Linked DNA regions of Homo sapiens: region 2 is linked to region 1. Evidence: promoter capture Hi-C in human tissues and cell types (Jung and others, 2019). All regions are on one chromosome and are shown on one strand. The core of a region is centred on a gene start or on the middle of the fragment in contact, and the rest is flanking DNA. Distances in the headings are between cores, read along the strand shown. Region 1 holds the start of MRPS6 (mitochondrial ribosomal protein S6). Region 2 has its middle 31 kb from the start of LINC00310.

The links. The method cuts DNA at HindIII sites, captures the fragments that hold promoters and counts their contacts. A contact is called where the count stands out against the background at its distance.
Region 2: a contact is called between a fragment that was not itself captured here and the fragment with the promoter of MRPS6 in region 1, in 9 of the 25 tissues and cell types used here (IMR-90 fibroblasts, adrenal gland, dorsolateral prefrontal cortex and 6 more).

The regions. Positions count from the first base shown.
Region 1 is chr21:34,071,678-34,076,068 of GRCh38, reverse strand. It overlaps MRPS6 (mitochondrial ribosomal protein S6), which reads right to left and starts at 2,491. Exons shown (of 3, transcript NM_032476.4): 1 at 2,324-2,491. The coding sequence starts at 2,368. It overlaps SLC5A3 (solute carrier family 5 member 3), which reads right to left and starts at 2,491. Exons shown (of 2, transcript NM_006933.7): 1 at 2,324-2,491. RefSeq lists silencers at 1,834-2,233, 2,524-3,043 and an enhancer at 1,630-2,580. The HindIII fragment of the contact is 15,607 bases long and covers 1-4,391 here.
Region 2 is chr21:34,146,997-34,151,387 of GRCh38, reverse strand. No RefSeq gene overlaps it. Among named protein-coding and RNA genes, the nearest start is that of LINC00310, 31 kb to the left of the region's middle. The HindIII fragment of the contact is 3,436 bases long and covers 430-3,865 here.

The DNA of each region.
Region 1 (4,391 bases), core at 1,242-3,741:
TACATCATATTAAAGGGGTAAAGAGGTATACACTTAAGAATCTAAAAACGTGGAAGATACGCAACTTTGAACTGAGGAGCTTCAATACCCTTCTTGCAACAGAAGCACAAAGTGCCTCGGGTTAGAACTGTGGTTTCTCCAAGGCCTGCTACCGGTGTGCAAGCTCACAGTCGCATTTTTCATTTCATAAGCCTAGAGTTAACTTTTTAAATTCGTTTCCCCCCAAACATTCATCCTATTTTAGAATCCTATTTTCCTAAACTGAAAGCAAGCAAACTGGTCTAAAACCTGGAAGTCTTTGTGTTTGTGCCACATTTACAAGCTACAGATAGGTTTTTGAACAAATAACTGAGAAGCTATTGTTTAATATTACTTTATTTAGGTCAAGGATCTCCTCAACATAACTTCGCCATTGTACATAAGTCACCACTGTTACAACCTTCTATCTACTGCCATGGGGCCTCTTTCTCCAAGAGGCAGTTCACCTTTATTATCTACTTTCTAGGGCTTTTTTTCTTTTTTTTGCCCCCCTTCCCTCATGCGAAGATTTCAAGGAAGGTTATTTATTATTTTAACCAAATTACGCTCTGTTGATCTGAACTAGAGTGAAAAATGGGTGCTCCACATCCAAAGGCTATGTTATTACAGGACATAAAAAAAAATGGTAAAAGAAATACACTTAATACTTGCAGCCATGTTAACCAAGATACTTGGCAACTATGGCAAAAACAAAGGGGAGGGCAAGTCTTCATTTCAAAGGTTTCAAAGGGTTACAGAATGAGCAAATATTATTGCCTACAGGTTGCCTCTTTCAGTGTCACCTGCTACCTCCCCAAGACAAGGAAAGTAAACAAAAGGAATTTCAGTAACGAATTTCCCAGGTTCCACATTCCCTAAAACACGTAAGTTGAAGGGAGGGCTTAAACAACTTCCACCTAATTAAAAATCTTCCCTTTTAATAATGCTTTGTTTTCACTGCTCCTATCCTTTCGGAGTTACATATGCTGGTAAGCAAGGAGGAGGGCCAAAAGGGATATTCAAGAGGCTGAACAGATACTATCTTAACTTCTTCCAAATCCATGAAGAACAAGCTGGGGGACACAATGGCATGCCTGGCCAGGCTGTCTGGACCTCATAGAGAGGCACTGGCGTCCCTTCCCAGTTAACAATATGCAAAGCACACTTCCTAACAATCTCCCGACGCTCCGTGATTGTTAGTTTATCAATTGAGCTTAAGTTCAACCAAACTTGGTAATACTCCTCGCAATTGACCTGGAGCCTAATTTCAAACGTAAAAATGCGTCCACTCCTCTAGCGCTGTAGGAAGCTGTGCTTACAAAGTTCGGACGTGGTACAATGATTTTTGTTTTATTACACCTGGTGGAGAAAAAAAAACATAACACCAAACTACGTTACCGAATTCCGAATTCACGGGAGAATGGGGATTTCGGCGACGACTTGAGGAGTACATGACCCAGGACAGAGGACGAAGTGAGCTGCCTCCGGGCCGCGGGCCCCTGTCCTTGGCCACGCCGTCACCTGAAAGGGGCCGCTGGTTCGCTTAGCATCCCTCCAAACCTGAAATCCCCTACCTCAAGATCAATCAAAAGCAGGGGGAAGAAAGTGTCTTCTGGAGGCGCAAGAAAGGCCACAACTTGGATGAATGAAACTGGGCTAAGGGCACCCGGAGCGGGATTTTCGCTGAAGTCAGAAAAAGAAAAGTCAAAAGATTTTTTTTTAACATGAGAGCGATTGCAAGAGACTGGAATACAGACAACGGCACAAACAAGCTTTGGAGGAACGCTTTATTGGGCGCGGACGTTCCGGGCGGCCGGCGGGCGCTAGAGCGGAGGCGGTCGGCGGCAGCCGGCGGGCGGCGGAGCGGGACGGACCAGGCGGCGGCGGCGGGGCCGGCGACGAGGCAGCTTCACGACTGGCGGGGACGGGCCGGAGTCGGGCTGGGCGCCCGCGCGTGTCCTCCCGCGGACCTTCCACTGGACTCCCGCGGGCCGGCGCCGGGATCGGGGTCGGGGCCCGCTCGGTCCGCCCCGCCCCCCGCCCGGCGGGCCGCTTGCGAGGCACACCCTCCCGGACCGCGCACACGCGCAGGCACACCCCCGCCTCCCGCGCGCACGCGGCCGGGCCCGGCCGGCCCACGCGCGCCCCCTTCCCGCGGACGCCCGCCGCCCGCCCGCCGCCCCGGCCTCCTCCGAGGAGTGCAGGAAGGCCCGGGGTCCCGCGGCCAGGGCGCGCGGGGGACGGCGGCCTAGCGGCAGCGGGGGCGCCCGCGCGGGAAGACCGGCTCTGAGGGAAGGTCACTTACCCGCTGCATGGCTTTCAGGATTAAAGCCAGCTCGTAGCGGGGCATGCCTGGAGGATCGGCGAGTGCGGCTCGGAAGCCAGCCGGTTCCCGGGACGCGAAGGGGCGGGACGGCGGGGACAGTGGGGACCTAGAAACTGCTGCGCCGGACGGCTCCCAGGCGGCGAAAGCACGGTCCGAGAGCGCGAGCCCGGGCTTAAAGGCGCTGGCAGCTGCGCAGACGCCGCGCCACGCCCCCTCGGCGCGCCCCGCCCCGCCCGCGCGCCTTGCCGCCGCCCCGCCCCCTCTCCGCCCGCGGGCGGCCGCCACGCCCCCTCCGCAGCCCCGCACCCGCCGCACCGCCCCCGCCCCGACCCCAGCCCAGCCCGCCGGCCGCGGCTAGGGGCGGTGCTGCAGACGCGGCCCAGAGCGGCTCGCGGCGGCCGCACGCCCCCTCGCGACCCTGCCTGCCCCTACCCCGCCTCCTGCCATGCCTGCTACCTAGCTCTCGAACCGGCTGGAACTTTCCATGCCTTCCTTCTCCTCCCGGGCGGCGGGCGAGTGAGTGCCCGCCAGTGCGCGTGCGCTGCGGTGCGGTCTCGTCCGTGCGCGTGCCCCTCGCCCGCGACTCCCCGGAGCTAGGGACCTTCGCGGCGCAAGGCGGGGTCGCGGCCGGCCCGGGGGCTGTGCGGCCAACGGCTGCTCGCAGGGGTTCTGGAACATTCCCGCCCGGGGTCGGTAGGGGGGTGCAGCTCTCGCCCCCAGCCACAACTCTCAGGTCTGACGCGGCTGACCAGGCCCCCTACCCGGCGAGGAGCGCGCTGGCACAGGCCGTGGGCCGCGGCGCGCGGGCTCGGGTCTGACTCAGTCCCTTGGCACTGCGTGACCTTGGGCCTGCTGCCTGTGCCGAAAGTGGGGACCCGAGTGAGTTACTGCACGTTAACCTCCGAGGACGGTGCCTGGTACACACAGGCGCGATACGGGCATTTGTGGTGTGCCCCTGACCTGCCCCCACGTGTTTCAGCGGAGGGCAGGCGAACACCTTAACTCTATCTCATTTCTTTAAATGTTTCCTCCGCTTTCACTTAAAGGCTAGGCTGAGTGCCTGGGAGACCCTTTAGCAACTGTCTAAGGTGGGCAGGGGCATACGTTCTGCCCTTGCCATCCCTTTACACCCACATGGTTCTCCGCCCTCCAGCCAGGGGCTCTGCAAGTGCAGTTTTCTCCAGCGCCCTTCCTTAGAGGTTGAGTACCCTGCAGCTGAGGCCTCTGCCCCTTGTTTGCCCCATTAAAAGCTCTGTACGTGGAGTGTTTGTCAACTTAAAGTGCTTTAACGTTAATAGGTAAAGTTTAGTGAACACTTACTCTGCATCAGGCCCCATGCCAAGGCTGGTGGATGTGTCTCCTAAAATTCTCACAACAGCCCTGAGGTGACAAAGATTCTTTGCTTGGCCAAACTTTAGTCAGGCTTCTGAATCTCATGCTAGGCCCATCTGTGCACTTCCTTGTAAAATCCAGTTCTAGCACAGAACCCCCATCCCCTCATAGCAGATCAGGTTCCTCATCTTCCTCTATCCCCCAGTCATGTCTTTTCACCCTGGCCTGAGTTCTACAAGAATCCTTTAGATCGGTTGAGCCAGAATCCCTCTTCCCCCGATGGTTACTCTTAGTGATTTTACATGGCCATAAATTTCTACTTGCCGACGCTGCATTCAGAATTGGAGCCCACTCTCTCTCCCCGGGTTTCCCTGATCCCTGTACCCATCGCGTTGGTCCTGAATAAAGTCTTTCTTACCATGCTTTAGTAAGCATCACTGAGTAATTTTTTTAAACAGAGGCAAGCACTGTTAACCCCATATTAGGGATTAGGAAATGTAGGCACAAAAAGTTTTGTAACTAGTCCAAGGTCATACAGTAATAGAAACAAAGTACTTTTAGCCGCCCCTCTACCCTTCTGACCTCCGGTTCTCCTACCACACAGATGAAGATGCTGATTGTTATTCAGTGGATTAACCGTGTAGTCCACGTAAGCCAAGATTAGAGTACCTTTGTCACCTTACCCAGAGGTTACCATTTCACATCCCATGCGTCT
Region 2 (4,391 bases), core at 898-3,397, 76 kb before region 1:
CAAAAATATAAAATATGGATATAAATGATACACACTGACTGATAATGGTTTGGGTCTGTGTCCCTGCCCAAATCTCATGCTGAATTGTAATCTCCAGTGTTGGAGAAGGGGCCTGGTGGGAGGTGACTGGATCATGGGGGCAGTTTCTGGTGGTTTAAGATCATCCCCCTAATTGTTGTCATGGCAATAGTGAGTGTTACTGTGAGATCTGGTTGTTTAAAAATGTATAGCCCCTCCCCACTTTCTCTCTTCCTTCTGCTCCAGCCATGTAAGACACACCTCCTTCCACTTCACCTTCTGCCATGATTGTAAGTTTCCTGAGGCCTCCCCCAAAAGCCGAGCAAATGCCGGCACCACACTTCCCATACAGCCTGCAGAACCATAAGCCAATTAAACTTCTTTTCTTTATAAATTACCCAGTCTTGGGTATTTCTTCATGGCAGTGCAAGAACAGACTATTACACTGACTTTAGATATGGCTACCTCTTGAGGGAAGGAATAGGATAAGAGGGGGTACAAAGGATTTCAACTATACCTAATATTTTCTTTAAAATAAAAGCTCTGAAAGATATATAGCAAAAATACAGTATCTATTAAATCTGAGTGGTAAGTTCCTCAAATTTGTTACATTAACTTGTTATTTTTAGGTATGTTTGGATTTTTTACAAACATAGGTTTCTAGTTTCTCAATCCATGTGCCAGTTTTAGGAAAGGAAAGGGAGTACGAATAGCGCTACAAGGTGAGGACACTCACTGTTACAGCGTCATGCTTGCCAGAACAGAGATTTAACCCCAAAACCATTTGGGTTAACAGAGCGGTTAACAGAGATTTCTTTAGCATTTTACTTAGCCACATTTATAAATAACTTCTTCATATTATTTTTAGATCTGGTAAGATATATGGAAGAGGAACAAGCTTTTAAAACATTTAACTGCTAACTTTATAAAATCAGCGCCTTTAAAATCCCCTGTGATTTTGCTTTGTGAATGACCCTTTGCTGGTGTTTTAAAAGTAATTAAAATGTATTTGGAGAGTATTTGAAAACTCCTGAGCTGTCATGGTGCCTGCAGAGGAGAGTTGCTATACTTACTAATTATCCCTTTCCTTGGCCTCACTAAACCCCATCCAATCTGCCTGTTCCTGAGGCTGGAAGGTAACAGGAGTACTGCATCCAGGCTCTCCTAGTACAGTCTGGCTCTTTCTGGCCACATCACCAAATTCTCTGCCAAGGTACTTTTCTAAGGGCTCCTTTCAAAGAGAAGGCCCCTTGCTCATGCAGATGTCATAGTTGCCTAGTGGACGGGAGATGGTGGAGGATGAAAGTTTGTGTGCATGAGAAGAGGAGGCAGGATGGTGGGAGACAGACAAGACAAGCAGAGTAAGAAAAATGGTGGGAATCAAACTCCCCTTTTTTGCAGGTAAAAGTTGGAGATTTACAGAAAGATGTCAAAAAGACCCTCAGCAGAAAACTAAGCAAAATTCCTGCATCAAATAGAGCCTATTCTTGTTATCTGCAGTAGTTGTGTTCTTTAAAGTTGCCATCAACACTGACTTAGAGAACCCTGAATTATCGCTCCTAGGGGAAATACAGGGTTAGGTTAGCCTTTGGTCACAACGCTTATGTCAACCCATCAATCCGTGAGCTTGTTTTATGTGTGTTTCGTTTTAAAGACGTTTACTACATACTGTTGATTAACATTGAACTCAAGGCCAATGGCACTAGAACTCATGGCTGAACAAGTTTGTCTAACAGGTATCTTCTCCAAAAGGCACATCACAGCCTTCTTGCGCTTAGAACACAGTCCTGCAGCACTACACTTGGGGGCCATTTGAAACAGCAAAAGCACCATGAAAAAGCACACAAATGCAAAAAAAAAAAATGGCACTAAATAGTGAAAAAGACACTTGTTTACAGTATGAGAGCTGGAACAAGAAGGCAGAGTGTTGCTTTGTTCGACAGGGAACAGACTTGTCAAGTGACTCAAATTCTTTGCTACTCTACACATACCCGTTGAATGACTACAAAAGTATCATGGGTATTCATTTTGAGGACATAAATTTTAGCAAGTAAGCAGACTCGCAAATATGGAATCTGCCAATAATGAGCATCCACGATACCAATTAACAGAGCCTGACACCTCTGTCAAAGTGTAATATCCAGTCTTTCACAAATAGGTGCTTAACATTTTGGTATCCGATTAGACAAAGGATGCTACATCCAAGTCACATCATTTAGCTCAATACAAGCTTTATGGAAACTACAGAGTCTCCCACTTATTTGGAATAGAGAGGTCAAGAGTCCATTTTGCATAATCCTTACTTCAGGCATTGTCTGGTGAACAATGCACCCTTGTCTCTTCCACTCACAATGGAACTGTCTCAAGGCAAATTGCTTTCTCTGAGAAATGTGACGATGCTGGTGTTCTGGAAGCAAAGGTTCAGATGCCACACCCAGACACCAGTGCTGCTCCCCTTCAGCAGCCCAGCGGACCTGAATACTTTGGGGATGAAGTTTGGTTCCATGAGTCTTTTGTTAATCTCACTGGGTTGTGGTGGCACTAGGAATGTGCAGGATTATCCAGGTCTTACTGTTGTCACTTTAGAGGTCAATTTTGGGGGTTGTGGTGTAGCTCTCAAAAAACTACCACCAATATGGACTTTTCGTTTCGACATGGTTTTCCTCCTGCGACTAACAGAATGTGTCTTGCCTGTATTTGGCTGTAAGCCATGTCCCTTAAAGCTTCATTTTCAGAGAACAAAAAGAATGCTGGCAATCTGAGCCCAGCAAATGACTGTGCTGACCTCTGGGACTCCTTTGCTGTTTTCTTGTGATTAAAGACAGGCCTATTCTGTTTAGAATGAGATTACTAGTCAGCCCCACAGAATCCAATGGCAGGTTATGAAAACAACAGCTATGCTTATCAGAACATGAAAAGAAGTGTGCAAAGAATAAGCCTCTAAGAAATTATTTTAACCCTTCCCCACCTCCATATCCTACCAACTACCAAGTTCTTTAATCACTGATGGAATAACTCTTCAGCAAACCAGGCAGTAACTCGGTCCAGGGTATTAGAGACCAGGACAGGCTCTTTGAGACCATCTGCTTCACTGGCCACATTTTCCATGTGAGGACACTTAGACCGGGAGAAGAAACTGAACATGGTCAAGGCTGGTGGGTGGAGAGTTCTCTGAGCAGTTCTCCAACCCAAAGTCCTATGATCATTCCACTACTGCATTTTTTCAAGGTGACCAAGAATCCCACAAATCGCCTTGGAAACTTCCCACCATCAACACCATACTTGTCTGTTTCCAGGTGCAGAAAACAGGCCAGGGACTGGCAGGTAGCATCACAAGGCCATTACAGGTGCCGTCATCTCTCTGCGGAGACCTCCTAACGCAAATGGCAGTAGCCCAGACCACAGCAGAGAGAGAATAATTTGTACTTTTCACACGCTCCTACGCACATTTCAAAGCACACACTGTTCAGGAAGGGGTTGCCTGGCGAGCACTCGCCCTCTCTAGTCCACACTGCCCACCTTCTTGTAGACATCTGCACCCCTTGCCTCAGCCCTCTTTGTACTTCTCCATGGCCAATCAGTGGAATTATTTCCTTCCTCACAAATATGCAGGCAGCATGGGGTTACTCAATTAGGAGGCATGTTTTATAGCAAGTTAACATGCACAAGACTCATTCTTGGCTCTTTGTAAAGATCTTTCAAGAAACCCTGAGCAACCTGACTTCCCAATCTTACCTCCAGCCACAAGCCCTGCAACTCTGACATTTCCACCATCCTTCTCACCATCACACTGTAACTTGCCCCCCTCCCAGGGGTTCCCAAAGCTCACCATGCAGTCTCACCACCTCCCCACCTGGCCCCACTCTCATTCCAGGCACTAGTCAATCTAGTTCTCCCCCGTCCCCGCCCCAGTTTCCTAGCACTTGGTTTAAACATTTGTTATTATATTTATTATGGGCTGTGTTTTAGACAGCTGAACAGTCCAACCCCCACGTGTGAGAGCCCTGAGGCCAGAACACTGCCCCTCTGATCTTTGTATCCTGCCCAGAGCAGCACCTGCCATATGTGTACTCTCAAAAGACACCCGTGGAGCAATGTGGAGAGAAATGAGCAGTGGGAATTACAGAGCAGGGAGAATCATGAGAAAAAAATACCTGGTCTCCAGGAGACACCAACATTTTCTGATGTTCTCAGGATTTCTGTTTGAAGACCTGAGATTTAAAACACTCCCAGGCACAGTGGCTCACACCTGTAATCCCAGCACTTTGGGAGGCCGAGGCGGGCGGATCACGAGGTCAGAAGATCGAGACCATCCTGGCTAACACGGTGAAACCCATCTCTACTAAAAATACAAAAAATTAGCTGGGCGTGGT